Regions from separate parts of the Homo sapiens genome. Here region 2 is linked to region 1. The links are contacts of gene promoters, found by promoter capture Hi-C in blood cells and fetal thymus (Javierre and others, 2016). All regions are on one chromosome and are shown on one strand. Each heading gives the region's core, a stretch centred on a gene start or on the middle of the fragment in contact. The rest is flanking DNA. Distances are from core to core; before and after follow the strand shown.

Region 1 (2,882 bases), core at 201-2,700:
CTATCTTGAAGAAGTGTATACTTATTTGGGGAGGAGTTATAATAAGGAGTTAACTTATTAGGAGTTAGTGACTGTCTTTCTGTCACTCACCCAGGGGTTCAGGTCCCAGGATGGAAGATTCAGCTGTCCGAGCTTAGGTGATATGTCCACCACCTGGTGGTACTGGAACAGGAAGAAGGGTGGGGTGTCTGTCTCCAGGGACCCTTGCCTTCTATATGTGAAGACAGGCCAAGTAAGTATTTAACAGAGCAGACAGTACTATAAAGAAAAATAAAACAGGATAGAGAGCATTCATTTCCAAAGAGTGTTATTCTAATGACACTCTAATGAACAGGATGCACCTGTTCCATGAACCCTCTCTCTCTTCCCTAGAAGGAGACACCCAGATCCTCATCAGTGGCAGCAGACACCTCCAAGTCTAGGACCTCTTAGGATAACTAGTCCTCCAGTTCCATGCAGTGCCTCTTCAGCGTTGATTAACTAGAGGCAGATTTAAGCAACACATCCCTACCAGAATGGCAAGGCAGGGAAAGGAAGGAAATAGAGAATTTGGGATGCTGTGGAGAATAAAACGTCATGCAAAGTTTACATTTCAGCATTTGAACAGATTCCATAAGTCAATATGTAGGATGCACCAAGGCACCAGTGACGGCCCTGCAGAAGATGACTTTGGGTAATGTGAGGAGTAGGAGCAGGTGGGGGAGATAGCCTCCTCTCCAAGGAGGTGACGCTGGGGACAGGTGAGTAGGAGGCAGTGAGGCAGAGATCCGAGGGAGGAGAAGTCCTAGCCGAAGGAGCACCAGAAGCCCAAAGACAGGCAGGAAACATGATGTGTCTGAGGTTCAGCAAGGAGGCCACAGTGACAGGAGCTCAGGGAGCAAGAGGCAGACGAGGATGTTGCAGGCTGGGAGGTGGGCTGAGGCTGGAAAGGGCTCTGCAGGTCATGAGGAGGCTGAGCTTGTTCTAAGTGTGGTGTGAAGCCATTGGCAGCAGGAGCATATTATGTTCCGGTTTATGCTTAGAGAGGGAGGGCAGTTTGTGGGGGGAAAGGAAGAGGAATGGAGATTGATTTGAAGGCGATTGCATTAGTCCATTTGAGAAATATGGTAGCAGTGACCACAAAAGCCATCCCCATTTTCCGTGGGTGCTCATTTTCCCAGTGGTACGAAGAGGCAAAAATGGCCAGCCTTGGTTCTGATTCACTGTGGCCAGGACTGTGAACTCTGGAGGAAGTACTTCTCCCTTGGGCACTAAATTCAGTTTCAACAGAGCAGAGTTCCTAGGTGGGAAGAAAACATTTTGCAAGTATATTATTAAGTAATCCTAAGAAGCCGCTTCTATGTTTACCCTTGGTTTCCGGCCCTGCATCTTCTGCTGTGGGCCAGCCTCTCCAAATTAGTCACTGCTTCAGAGCTTGCGTCCCATCCAGGGCAGTATGGCAACTTCTGGGTGTGTCTCCCAGCTGCCTCTGTAACTTCATTTTTATTTGGTTGTTATTGGGTGTGATGGGGTCATGTGCTTCCTTCTCTGTGACGTTCTGGGCCTGGATGGCGTGTGAGATGCTGCGACAGGATAGGGGCCTTCTAGAGGATCCACAGAGTGCAGGAAAACAAATCCAAGCCCAGCATAAGTGGCCCTTCCAGTAGGGACAAATCACCACCCCCTCTATTATGAAAAGGCCCCACTGCAATCAGCTTTCCGCAAGGGGCTGTCTGGTTCCTGCGGGGAACCGTATCATCAGCTTTGTTGAGGGGAAGGCCCAGACTTCCTGTGGTTTAGCCCAGGCTTGGCATCCATTTTTGCCACCATGGCCTTTTTCTTGCTTGCTTCTTTTTTTTTTTCCTTTTTATGAACCCACTGAGCAAGTATCAAGATGACTAGGAAGGAAGACTGGCATCTAGCTGCACATTGGGACAGCATGTCCACATGATGATTGATTAGCCTCTCTTGCAATAAGGATTCATGTAGGATGGACATCATCTCATGCTCTGCGGGTATTCTGAGGTAGCCAGTTATACTCCTTCCCCAAACCCATCCTCAGCCCATCTTGTTCTTTCCACATTCCTCCAGGCCATTCAGCCAGGCCATTAGCTCCTAACCAGGAGTGCGCACGAGCTAAATCCTTGCCTTGCCAAAGCCATCTCTCCTACTCAGAAAGGCTTGGGAAGAGTATTGCTTACATTTGCCGCCGGGAGTTTCCCTGTCCTGAGGACACAGTCACCAGGCTGATGGTAGGAGTTCTCTTTGAGAAGCTAGGAAGAAGACTTGTAGTAGGATGCCTACCCTGAGGCTCCCTGGCTCTGCTCCATCAAGAGGCCTGAGTCTGGGAGTTGAGTGAGGGCCCTCCCTTGTCTTCTCTGTCATGGTGGCTCAGGTCGGGCTCTGCTTGCCAGCCCTGGAGAGTTCCTCCTACACAATGTTGTGGTACCTTTGTGGAATCACTCATCTGTTTTGTTCCTGGGGACCCCGAGATCAGTTAACAGCACAACCAGAGATTTCACAGGTCAAACCATTCAGATGACCAAGCTGGCCCTGCTGTGTGGTATAGTAACTATGCCCACCTTTTTCCCATGACAGATGTCCCACCCCCATGGAGGACCAGGTTTGCATTGCAGTGGAACCATCTCTCAGCAGCATCTCTGGCCTAGAGAGATTAGCAGTACATTAATTATAAAAGCTGCTGTCACATGGGAGATGCAGCCCAAGGGGTGGTGAGACTCACATGATAGACCATCTCTAGCATTTCCATCCCAGTCCTGGAACTCCTTCCTTTCTATGCACTGAGGGTTTTAGGTTTATATACCAACGAAGTGCTAGAATGGCATCCAGCTCAGTAAGCCCACAAATTGAGCTCAGCAAACCAGCTGTAAAAGCATCATTTT
Region 2 (2,882 bases), core at 1-2,500, 1.0 Mb after region 1:
CCTTTTCTGAGTGGGGAGCTTAGAGATGCTCAGGAGGGACCTCCCCGATTCTGCGATTCTGAGCATCAATTTTGGCAGGAGGCTAGATAGAAGTAGCAATTGACATTCATCACCCTAAAGTGCGGATTATGTCAGTACAGATGCTACGATAGAAGAACTAAAAAATGACAGAAATGGTTTTACTGTTTTTAAACTCTGGGAGCCTACTCCTTTAAGAGATTAGGCAGTACGCCTATTCTCGCCTGGTCCCAGCGTACCTTGCGCGGCTCGCCGTCCCCCACTCACGTACCAGGGCTCATTGCGTGACGGTTACACTTCCGGCGGGCTACGTGCGCGCGGCGAGCGCCGGGCGTACTTTTGCGTGGTTGCTCCACCCCCTCAGCCTTGCCTTCGCCGCCGTTGGGGCTGGAAGTTCCCGCCAGGTCCGTGCCGGGCGAGAGAGATGCTGCCCGGCCCGCCTCGGCTTTGAGGCGAGAGAAGTGTCCCAGACCCATTTCGCCTTGCTGACGGCGTCGAGCCCTGGCCAGACATGTCCACAGGGTTCTCCTTCGGGTCCGGGACTCTGGGCTCCACCACCGTGGCCGCCGGCGGGACCAGCACAGGCGGCGTTTTCTCCTTCGGAACGGGAGCGTCTAGGTAACCGCACTTTCTCGCCTTCCTGGGCCGGATTCACCCCCACCCCCACCCCCGCAAAGCTCCCTTGGTGTCCCCATCCTGTCTCTTCCCTCTGGCTTCCTTCCCAGTGGGGCTGGAGAGAAGCACTTAATCTAGCCGCCCGGCGTCGTAGGCCTCTCGCCGCGGTACCCGGGCCCAGCGCGGCCTGGTGAAGTGGAGGGCGGGATGGGTTCTGTGCTGTGAGGTTTCCAGAATCCACGTATAGTTCAGGCATTATTTGGACCTAGTGGGGTCTTGACTGCGTGGAAGGGCCTTGGGGTCTACCCCGGAGCTTTAGCGATGTGTCAGTCTTAGGCATAGAATGAACATTGAATGAATGAATGAAATTATAGCATACTGTGGAGTTTTATGATAGATAATTCCGATTTCATTGCAGCATTTGCGGTTTTGGATATGACGGTGTTTTAATAACTTTGTGGTTTTTAACCAGCTTTTCAAGCTTTTGTGCCACATGGGACCTTATCTGTTTTTGTTAAAAAAAACAAAAACACTTTTTTACAGTGTTTATTAGTGGTAATTTTCTGCAGTATGTGCAGATTAGTATATCTGATGCGAGAATGTTGTGTTGTAATAACTCAATTTGTCTTTTACTTAAATTACAAAACGTAGGTAGCATGTTCCTTGTTTTTGTGCAACCCATTAGTTCAGGTGGCGACAAAAACATAACTATCCAGAAAGAAACAAAGTGGTGAGACATTTTAATGAGAGATTTAAGCTTTAGAACTCAATTTTTTTTAAGATAAAGGTGGAGGGGTTCATAAAGTTAAGGAGTGTGCACACTGTCAACAAGATACTTCCTGAAGCTTAAAAGATGTGGCTGTAGATTTAAAAGGCAAATACTTAAGCATGACCTGCAGTTTAAAAAGGGAGGGAGGAGGAACCACGGACTACACAGTCAATTCAGAAATTTGAATTTTCATCCATACCTCCGTTATTCTTACTCTACTCGCTCAACAACAGGTTCTGATAATGTTACTTCTGCCATTTCTGTTTGTCTTTATTTCCAGTTCCACAACCCTGCTTAGGCTATTGTCATTCGTGGAACAAATATTTATTGGACAGATTCCCATGTGCAAGGCTCTGTTTTAGGTATTAAGAGTCTTGCTCTCTTGATCCTTACATTCTTATGAAAATAATTTTGATTCTTGTCAGATTTTTAACCAGCTGTCTTTCTTGTTTTAGATGAAAACTACTCCAATCAACTTCTTCAATCTGTTCTGCCACATTTTAGCCAGAGTAATTGAAAAACAAAATTCCCATTGCTCTCTCTTTAATCATTACCCGCCATCGTTAGAATGAAGTTTAAAAAAGAAAAAAAAACTTACCATAGTCTGCAAGGTCCACTTCTGCTGGAACCTCTGGGGACTCATCTTGAGCGGGACTCATCTTGAGCCCATCTTTTTATTTTAGCTATGCAGACCCACTGTTAAAAACAAACACACAACTACCACCCTAAATAACTGAAATGAAGTTTCAGAGAAAGATACCCTTACTTCATGGGATGCACTTTGATATTTTCTATTTCTTTTTTTTTTTAATGTTGCTTATGACTTGATGAATTAATTTTTATATTTCTCTCATGGTCCTGATCTTAGAAAGCCTGTCCTAGCAACATGGCCTTTTCTCTTTTCAAGTGGGCTTTGCCAGCCCCTTCCTTGCAAATATCAAATGGTCTCTTCCCCAGAGAGGCCTTTTCTGACCTGTCAGTCTAGGGGAGATTTCCATTCTCCTAGTACTCTTAGAGTGCTGATCACAATTGTAATCAGTTTGTTATATTTATTGTTAACTTGTTTGTTGTCAGATCTCAGCACTAGAATAATTAATACCTATGTCTCTCACTGACTAGAAACTGCCTGAGGGCAAGGTCTGAGTCTTAATTTCCCACCTCATTGTCAGTCCCAAGGACAGTGCCTGGCATAGAAAAAGGGCTTTAATAACAATTTGAATGACTGAGCAAATGAGTTATTAGTAATAAGCTATAAAAAATTACCCAAGTTTTAGAGAGGCTTGGATAAATTAATGAAAGAGGAGACTGTCCGACATAAATTTGTTAGAGTGCTGGTTGGGAGGCCTGACAGCCCCTAGTGCCACCTAGTGATTTGATGTCTTGAGGTTGGTCATTTTAGGGGAGTTCTCACATCTGGAAAAGGAGTATAATATATTACCTGAGTTGATGAGTGAGATGAAGTATTTAAATATTTAGCATC

Evidence for each region. Contacts are between HindIII fragments. The CHiCAGO score rates a contact against its expected background, and 5 or more counts as called.
Region 2: a fragment that was not itself captured here is called in contact with the fragment with the promoter of SPATA13-AS1 in region 1 in 2 of 17 cell types (total CD8 T cells and naive CD8 T cells); the score reaches 9.9 in total CD8 T cells.

What each region holds. Positions count from the first base shown.
Region 1 is chr13:24,252,989-24,255,870 of GRCh38, forward strand. SPATA13-AS1 (SPATA13 antisense RNA 1) reads right to left here and starts at 1,451. Exons shown (of 3, transcript NR_046531.1): 1 at 1,348-1,451; 2 at 91-211. All of the region lies in intron 4 of SPATA13 (spermatogenesis associated 13), which reads left to right. The HindIII fragment of the contact is 5,552 bases long and covers 1-2,882 here.
Region 2 is chr13:25,301,245-25,304,126 of GRCh38, forward strand. It overlaps NUP58 (nucleoporin 58), which reads left to right and starts at 381. Exons shown (of 16, transcript NM_014089.4): 1 at 381-636. The coding sequence starts at 530. RefSeq lists enhancers at 37-276, 437-516, 627-676. The HindIII fragment of the contact is 276 bases long and covers 1,113-1,388 here.